Regions from separate parts of the Homo sapiens genome. Here region 2 is linked to region 1. Evidence: promoter capture Hi-C in 16 types of primary human blood cells and fetal thymus (Javierre and others, 2016). All regions are on one chromosome and are shown on one strand. The core of a region is centred on a gene start or on the middle of the fragment in contact, and the rest is flanking DNA. Distances in the headings are between cores, read along the strand shown.

What was found. The method cuts DNA at HindIII sites, captures the fragments that hold promoters and counts their contacts. A CHiCAGO score of 5 or more calls a contact.
Region 2: a fragment that was not itself captured here is called in contact with the fragment with the promoter of TMEM254 in region 1 in 2 of 17 cell types (non-activated CD4 T cells and naive CD8 T cells); the score reaches 6.1 in non-activated CD4 T cells.

What each region holds. Positions count from the first base shown.
Region 1 is chr10:80,075,416-80,080,287 of GRCh38, reverse strand. TMEM254 (transmembrane protein 254) reads right to left here and starts at 1,623. Exons shown (of 4, transcript NM_025125.4): 1 at 1,502-1,623. The coding sequence starts at 1,588. It overlaps TMEM254-AS1 (TMEM254 antisense RNA 1), which reads left to right and starts at 1,095. Exons shown (of 4, transcript NR_027432.1): 1 at 1,095-1,561. The HindIII fragment of the contact is 2,319 bases long and covers 133-2,451 here.
Region 2 is chr10:78,044,904-78,049,270 of GRCh38, reverse strand. It overlaps a transcript of RPS24 not described here. Among named protein-coding and RNA genes, the nearest start is that of RPS24, 13 kb to the right of the region's middle. RefSeq lists an enhancer at 1,642-1,701. The HindIII fragment of the contact is 1,419 bases long and covers 1,731-3,149 here.

The sequences.
Region 1 (4,872 bases), core at 374-2,873:
CTACCTCTCTCACGATGTTGTTTCACATCTGAAAGTTAAATAATGCACAAATATCACTGCATCCTCCCAAACCAAAGGGAAAGGGGAGCATCTGCCAGCTCCACAAGATCCCAATTTGAAGTCCCCAAAGCTTTCCTCCAACTATATTCTAACTAGTCACAGACACTAAATCGTAGAACAGAAATGCACCTTTGAAAATTTTCAGTTCAACACCTCCATTGTACATATGGGGAAATCAGGACATAGGTTGTCAGATTTGACACCAACAAACAACACTGTGGACAAGACAAATCTCCAATCTCCAGGATCTATTGGTATACCCAAATAGCTTCGCCTTCCTTCAAAATTTTACCACCTTATCACTTGACGTTAGGAGTTCGAGGCCAGCCTCACCAATACCCATGTCTACTAAAAACACAAAAAAATAGCTGGGCATAGTGTAATCCCAGCTACAGGTAAAGACATGAGAATCGCTTGAACCTGGGAAGCAGAGGTTGCAGTGAGCCGAGATCGCCCCACTGCACTCCAGCCTGGGTGACAGAGCGAGACTCCGTCTCAAAAAAACACAAAACTACCACCTTAGCCCCCAACCTACTTTTCCACGCATCTTTCTCGTTATCCTTTAAACAGATTATTTCTCAGCCAAACAAACGTCGCTCTTTTTCTAGGTACAGCTTTCTTCTTGCTTCCACACCTATGTCAGAACAGTTATAGCCTCTTTATCCTCCCTTACCACTTAAATCCTACCCATCCTTTAGATTTATCCCCGTTTTCCAAACAATTCCTATTGGCTCAAACATTCTGCTTCGGAAGCCCTATTCTGACTTGGCAGGCCTATGGCAGTCTGTTAACTTGACTTTCCGCTTCGTGAGAGGCTTAGGCTCGGATAACCCGTTAGTAACCATGCAGAGGTGAGGACCCAAAGACAGGAACACTAGAAAGCAGAAACTATCCTAAGAGCCCACCGAATTTCCGCTTACATGAGTAACCGAGACAACCGTCAGATGCGCGTGCGCACAGGCCCCGTTCCCAGAGCTCCCCTCGCCCTACGAGGGCCCGGCGGGCCAAAACAGAGGCCCGCCCCGCCCCACCCCACGCCTCACCGCGAAGTAGCCCAGCCCCAGGACTGTGACCAGAGAGGGCAAGGGTCTTGCTGGACGGAAATAGGCGGTAGCCGCATTGCTGGCCTCCGACTTCACCATCCTCTTGAAAAACCCAGACACAGAGTTGGCTGGGAGCTCCCCAGCCGTCCCCGCCCCCATATAAGAAAAGCCTGGCTAGCCGGTTTCTCAGGGCCCTGGGCGCCCGCCCAAGACCCTGGCGGACCAGTATGCTTGCTCTCATTGCGGAGTCTGGTCCCCTCCCCTCCGCTCCTAGCGCGCGGGAGTCGGGATTGTGCTTGCACGACTTCCCCCGGCCCGCGGCCTGTGAGCCCAGGTCCTGGGGTGAACCGAGCGCTCGCTCGTTCGTCAGACCGTAGCGCTCCAGCGGCTGTCCTTACTGTGTAGTAGCCAAAGCTGAGGGTGATGACTGTGAACCAGAACAGACTGCCTCGCTGAAAGTAGGTCGCGCCGGCTGCCGTAGCCATGGCTGCAACACCTCCCCGGGAGCGCGCTTCAGGACACCGTCGAGCGCGAGCGCGGAGGCAGGGCCGGGGCCGGCCCGCGCTCCCTCGCCATCCCCGCAGGGAGAAGATGGTGCTGGTTGGGAAGTCCCTGAGAGCGAGTCTCCCTGTCTGGCCCCAGTACAGGGGCCTTGGAATCACACCTGGGCTCAGGTCTGGAGGGCTGGTCATCATCTTGTAGGGGAGACACTCCTGTCACTTTTCTGGGTTTAAGATAAAGATGTTCGGGCTGGCGCGGTGGCGTGTCCCTGTAATCTCAGCACGTTGGGAGGCTGAGGTAGAAAGATCCCTTGAGCCCAGGAGTTTGAGACCAGCCCGGGTAACATAGCTAGACTCTGTCTCGAATGAATGAATGAATGAATGAGGTGTTGGAATAAATTCCAGCAATTTGGGAGGCCGAGTCGGGCAGATCACTTGAGGTCAGGAGTTTGAGACCAGCGTGGTCAACATGGTGAAACCCCGTCTGTACTAAAAATACAAAAAATTTGCTGGGCGCGGTGGTGCCTGCCTGTAGTCCCAGCAACTCCAGAGGCTGAGACAAGACTCTCTTGAACCTGAGAGGTGCAGGTTGCAGTGGGCCCAGATCACGCCACTGCACTCCAGCCTGGGCAACACAGCAAGACCCTGTCTCAAAAAAAAAAAAAAAAGATGGTGTTTTACTAAGAGTCTAATTTTTGAAGTTCTCTGTGCTGTGCACCTTGAGAAATAATGCTGTCCTCATTAGTTAAGATGTTTGGAACTATACAGCACCATGGTTATGAGCAGGGACTGTGAAACAGGCTGCCTGGATTTAAGTCCTGGCTCTGTCTCGGCTATTTGTGTAAGCTTAGATTAATTACTTAGCCCGGCTGTGTCTTAGTTTCTGTATCTGTAACATGAGGATATGCCAGTTTTGGGAACCTCAGGGTTTTTAGGGTGGGTTAAATGAGTTGATATCTGTAAAGAAAGCACAGCAGTGTCTGGCCCATAGTGCTTTGTAAGTGTGGGTGATTATCAATACTGCTGAGCCTTTAGCATGTGTGCCAGGCCCTGTGCGAACTGTTGTATCATCAATGAGCTGTGGGAGGTATATGCAGCTGAAGTGTCTGATTAAACACTATTTAATCATAGAAATAGAAAATCATAGAAATAGAAAAACTATTTCACCTGGGCCTTAAAAATGGGTTACTGGCCAAGCGCAGTGGCTCAAGCCTATAATCCTGGCACTTTTGGAGGCCGAGGTGGGTGGATCGCTCAGGAGTTCGAGACCACCCTGGAGAACATGGTGAAACCCTGTCTCTACTAAAATACAAAAAATTAGCTGGGGGTGGTGGCGCGTGTCTATAGTCCCAACTACTTGGGAGGCTGAGGCACGAGAATTGCTTGAGCACCGGAGGCGGAGGTTGCAGTGAGCCGAGATCCAATCACTGCACTTCAGCTTGGGCTATAGAGTGAGACTCCGTCAAAAAAAAAAAAAAAAAGTTACTATACTGTAGCTGGTATTTATTGAACACCTACTATGTTCAAGGCATTGTTCTAAGTACTATACAATAATTAACTAATTTAATTCTTAAAACAATCCTAGGCAGTAAACTATTGTCCTTATTTCAAAGAAGAAGAAACAGCACAGGGTCCTGTCATGCCCAAGTGGGTGAGGAATACTGGAAAACAATTGGCAGCTGAGTGTTCCAGTTCCAGAGAGGGCACTCTGGAACCAACCAAGGTTCTCTTTCCTCATTTTTTACGTGAGTATCTTGGGATATAAAGTCTTAAAGAATGAATTTCAGAATATGTGAGGAAATCCATTTCCCAGGTAGACCACAGTGCTCTTGAATATCAAGATTAACAGTAACAATTGTAACAATTGGTGTTTTCTTAGTCCTTATCATCCTTGATCACACCACCCTCTTTATTCTTCTCCTCCTTCTGAATAACTCCTTGTTTTCTCAGCTTTCCTTTTCTTTCTTCTCTCCTAGAATAAGTTTTGCTTATTATCTTCTTTGTGTTTTCAGTACCTATCAGATTCAATTTTCACCTTCAGCTGACTAAAATAATCTCTTCAGCCCTCACCTCTTCCCAGTTGGTCACCTTTACCAAAGATTACTCACACCTCAAAGACAAGAAGTCCATTATCATTATCCACAGAGTCCATCCTCACCAAGGCTACCCTGTCTGTGGTTTTTTTTTTTTTTTTTTTTTTTTTTGAGATGGAGTTTTGCTCTTGTTGCCCAGGCTGGAGTGCAGTGTTGCGATCTCGGCTCACTGCAACCTCTGCCTCCCCACTTCAAGTGATTCCCCTGTCTCAGCCTCCTGAGTAGCTTGGATTACAGGTGTGCACCACCACGCTTGGCTAATTGTGGAGACGGGGTTTCACCATGTTGGCCAGGCTGGTCTCGAACTCCTGACCTCAGGTGATCTGCCTGCCTCGGCCTCCCAAAGTGTTGGGATTACAAGTATGAGCCACCTCGCCCGGCCTACTCTATGTGAACAGCACTTTCTTTCTACCTTGTACCCAGATTCCTTGCTTTGACTTCCCCCATATCATATAAAGATTGCAGACTAATCAGCTGTCAAGAGTTCTACTGATTGGGTAATACAATATCTAATCCTTCTAGATTAAATCATGGCTTCATCTCCACTGTCTCATGAGTCAGTCACTCCTTCCTACTTCCTGCCACTTCAGCCCACATGCAGTCCCTTTATTGAATCTGTCTGACAAATAACAGGATCATCTTTTTCAAGTACAGTTCTGATCAAGCCTTTACCATACCAAAACTTTTTTTTTTTTTTGAGACAGAGTCTCACTCTATTGCTCAGATTGTAGTGCAATGGCGCAATCTCAGCTCACTGCAACCTTGGCCTTCTGGGTTCAAGTGATTCTCCTGCCACACTCTCTCTAGTAGCTGGGACTACAGTCACATGCCACCACACCCAGCTAATTTTTTGTATTTTTAGTAGAGATGGGGTTTCGCCATGTTGACCAGGCTGGTCTCAAACTCCTGACCTCAGGTGATCCACCTGCCTTGGCTTCCCCAAGTGCTGAGATTACAGGTGTGAGCCACCATACCCAGCCTACCTTACCAAAAGTTTCAAGAACTTCCCCAATTTTAGGCTGCCGTTTTTCAGTATTTCTATTTAGGTATTAAATCTGCAACGAGGGAGATATTGGAGAAATTATTCATGCTACAAGAAATGTTGGAGAGGCAAAATGGCTTCAGTCAACAGACTACAGGGAGCTAGGTTTTAGTTTCATGTCTTCTACAACCCTG
Region 2 (4,367 bases), core at 1,191-3,690, 2.0 Mb after region 1:
ACAGCAGGGAAAAGGTACCCCAGACAGCATGCAGTGTTTTGTTACCTTAAAAAAGCAAGAAACAGCACTTGAGTAGCAAACGGCTCACTTGCTGTCAGAGGTGGCGTGAACTCCAGGGGAAGACGCCTGAAGCTTACTCCTTTCCCCAGCATGAATGAGCTGAAGGACTTGGGGCAAGTCATCTACCCTCTGTGCCTCATCCATAAACAGAAGAAAAAGCAGCCCGTCTTGCATGCTGCGTGAAGGTGCCAAAGGAACTGAAGAGCTCTCCTTCCCCGCTCCAAGGAGGCCTGATGGAAAGAGACATCATGTTTAACTTGTTTCCTCCACCAAGGACAGCTGCAGTTAACAATGTTTGCCTATGGGTTGGGCAATTTTTTTTTTTTTTTTTTTTTTGAGATGGACTCTCGCTCTGTCGCCCAGGCTGGAGTGCAGTGGTGCAATCGCGGCTCACTGCAACCTCCCTCTCCCAGGTTCAAGCGATTCTTCTGCCTCAGCCTCCTGAGCAGCTGGGACCACAGGTGCATGCCCCCATGCCCGGCTAATTTTTGTGTTTTTAGTAGAGACGGGGTTTCACCATATTGACCAAGCTGGTCTCGAACTCCTGACCTTGTGATCTGCCCATCTTGGCCTCCCAACGTGATTACAGGCGTGAGCCACCGCACGCGGCTGGGTTGGGCAATTTCTAACCAGACTCTCTGAATATCATCATCGACGGTGGGAGCCAGCAGAGGGCTGGACCACTCTTTTGAATCCCCTTATAACCCAGGGATGAGCACATCTATAGCGCTCTGAAAAGGCAGTTCTGGAGATTTCCTGCCCAGGCAGAGCAGTGGCTCAGCTGGGTGAGCAGTCACCGAGAGTATAGGATGCCAATCCCTGGATTAACGAGGTGAATGCCAAAGACCCTCCGAGGCAATGTATTTTTGGAAGAAATACACACTGCAGCAGAAAAGAGAACATGGTATAAATTTTCCTTCTTCCAAACAGTGCAGAATAGAAACCTATAAAAGCAAATTCTGGATGTCTGAAGATATGGACTTTTTAAAAAATCTTGTTTGAGAGATTCCACCTTACTGACTTGCACCATATCCCTGGAAATGCTTCCTTAAGTGGCTACTGGAGATGGATGTCATGTAGCAGGGTTTACAGATCCCCTGCAATCCGAGGTCCTTGAAAAGCACAAGGCAGTCTCTTCCTCAACTCCCAGGGCAGAATTTTATAGTGGAAAGAGATGTTGACAGCCACTTTCTCAGCACCACTCTCTCATCCTACAGTGTAGGAAACTGAGACCCAGAGGAGAAAGGGGTCTTGCCAGAGATCTTAAAGTGTGGTGGGGCAGAGCTAAGGCTTGAAAACAGGTCTTGGACCCAGCACTGTGGCCCCGGACCCATGCTTGTCAAAGAATAGGACAGAGGCATAGCACTGTAGGCAGAAGGCTGAAGCAGAATCGGGCTGCTGGGGTTCCCAGCCTTCGGCCCCCACCTCCCCCAATAGAAACCGCAAGCTGCCTGGCTGGGCAGCTACAAAAGGGGGAATGCTGTTTGCACAGGATCTGCAGAGACCTCGCAGCACGGATGGGTAGACATCACCATGCACATATGAACAGCAGAAAGCCCTCCAGGTTCAGCTTCCCTACGAGGGCCGAATCCTATAAACAAGATTACCACCCCCATTAGACCTTCTCTGAGAAGAAAGAGTGACCTCTCCAGTTGATCTGGCATCAAGCTTTTTTCATGCTTCCACAAGGGTAGCGGTCTTGACAACAAAGCAGACCGCTTCCACGTCTGTGCCCACAGTGCCCCCTTGTGGGAGTCTGCATAGTGCATCACACGTCTTTATTTCACCAAGTGAAAAGGCAGGGATGGGGCAGTCTACAGCACTGTCCTACCGGGTCTCCACAGCTGTCCCCCTCTGGAATATCCTCCCCTTCCCTAAGCTCAGTGGTTCTCAAACTTTAGCATGCATCTGAATCACCTGGAGAGCTTATCAAAACACAGGTTCTGGCTGGACGCGGTGGCTCACACCTATAATCCCAGCACTTTTGGAGGCCGAGGCCAGCGGATCACCTGACGTCAGGAGTTCAAGACCAGCCAGACCAACATGGTGAAATCCCATCTCTACTAAAAAGTACAAAAAAAAAAAAAATTAGCCAGGCGTGGTGGCAGGCACCAGTAGTCCCAGCTACTCAGGAAGCTGAGGTGGAGAATCGCACCCAGGAGGCGGAGGTTGCAGTGAAGCAAGATCACGCCACTGCACTCCAGCCTGGGCAACTCAAAAAAAAAAACAGGTTACCTGGCCCCACCCACAGCTTCTGATTCAGTAATTCTAGGGTGGAGCCCAAGAAATTGAATTTCTAGCAAGTTCCCTGGTGACACTGCTGCTGCTGTCCAGGACCACACCTGGAGAATCGCTGCCTCAGCTAATCACCTCCACCCATTTAAGGCTCAGGACCATTTCTAGCTCCTTGGCAAGATGTTCCACAAATGCCCCCAGGCTTATCATAGGATGCCATAGTTGTGTAACTTTAACCAAGTTCCTTAACCTCTTTGAGCCTCAATTTCCTCATCTATAAAATGGGGGTAATAGTACTTCCCTCCGAGTGCAGGTAAATGAGGCCAGGTGCAGTGGATCATGCCTGTAATCCCAGCACTTTGGGAGGCTGAGGCAGGTGGGTCACCTGAGGTCTGGAGTTCAAGACCAGCCTGGCCAACATGGAGAAACCCTGTCTCTACTATACAAAAATTAGCCAGGTGTGGTGGTACACACCTGTAATCCCAGCTACTATGGAGGCTGAGGCAGGAGAATCACTTGAACCCAGAAGGTGGAGGTTGCAGTGAGCTGAGATTGCGCCACTGGTGCAATCCAGAGCTCCAGCCTGGGTGACAGAGCGAGACTCATTCTCAAAAAAAAAAAAAAAAAAAGGTAAATGAGATAATTTGTGCAAGACTTAGCTCAGTACCTGGCACATGGTAAACAATAAATGTTAGCTATTCTGTGGTCATTAATTAGCAATAGTATTACTGTTCATCTGCCAGCTTCTTGAGGGCAGAGACAGTATTCCCATTAGAGACAGAATTCTCAGAGGCAGAACGGATCTTAGAGAAACTTCAGTCCAGCTTCCCAAGCCTGAGCTCACCTGGGAAGCTTCAGTCCAGTTTCCTGAAGCAGCCTCACCTGGGAAGCTATTAAAACATCAGGTGCTTGGGCGCTACCCAGATCTACTAACTCTGAAAACTGGGGCAAGAGGCTGGGCATTTGTTGTTTTTGAGACAGAGCCTCGCTCTGTCACCCAGGCTGGAGTGCAGTGGCATGGTCTCGGCTCACTGCAACCTCCGCCTCCTGGGTTCAAGCAATTCTCGTGCCTCCACCTCCTGAGTAATTGAGATTACAGGCACGCACCACCACGCCCAGCTAATTTTTGTATTTTTAGTAGAGATGTTTCACCATGTTGGCCAGGCTGGTCTCGAACTCCTGACGTCAAGTGATCCACCCGCCTCAGCCTCCCAAAGTGCCGGGATTACAGGTATAAGCCACCACACCCAGCCAGCATTTGTATTTTTAACAAGCCCCCAGCCTGGCCAACATGGTGAAACCCCATCTCTACTAAAAATACAAAAAATTACCCAAGCATGGTGGCAGGCGCCTGTAGTTCCAGCTACTCAGAAGACTGAGGCAGGAGAATCGCTTGAACTCAGGAGGCAGAGGTTGCAGTGAGCCAAAACAGTGCCACTGCACCCCAGCCTGGGTGACAAAGCAACACTCCATCTCACAAAAAGAAAAAAAGAAAGCCCCCACCTGCCAGGTTTCGGAATTACTCATCTAGCCCGGATAGCAGACAGACACAGGGAGGGAAATAGAAGCCCAGAAAAGGGAAGTCTTTTGCCCATCCATGGCCCCAGCTGATTGTAAGCTGAGTGGAGATCAGGAACTGTGACTCCTGATTCCTGATCTGGTCCCTTTTTCCGAGTTATTAATACTTGGGGCCAGGCGCGGTGCCTCACGACGGTAATCCCAGCACTTTGGGAGGCGGGGTGGGCAGATCACCTGAGGTCAGGAGTTCAAGACCAGCCTGACCAACATGGAAAAACTCCGTCTCTACTACAAAATACAAAATTAGCCAGGTATGGTGGCACATGCCTGTAATCCCAGCTACTCGGGAAGCTGAGGCAGAGAATTGCTTGAACCCAGGAGGCGGAGGTTGCAGTGAGCTGAGGTCGTGCCATTGCACTCCAGCCGGGGCAACAAGAGTGAAACTCCATCTCAAAAAAATACGATAAATACTTGGATGCCATCTCATCGACCCATAACCTTCTACATAAATTCCCTCTCCAATATGCATGATGAGCAGCCAGAGCGTTGCCAAA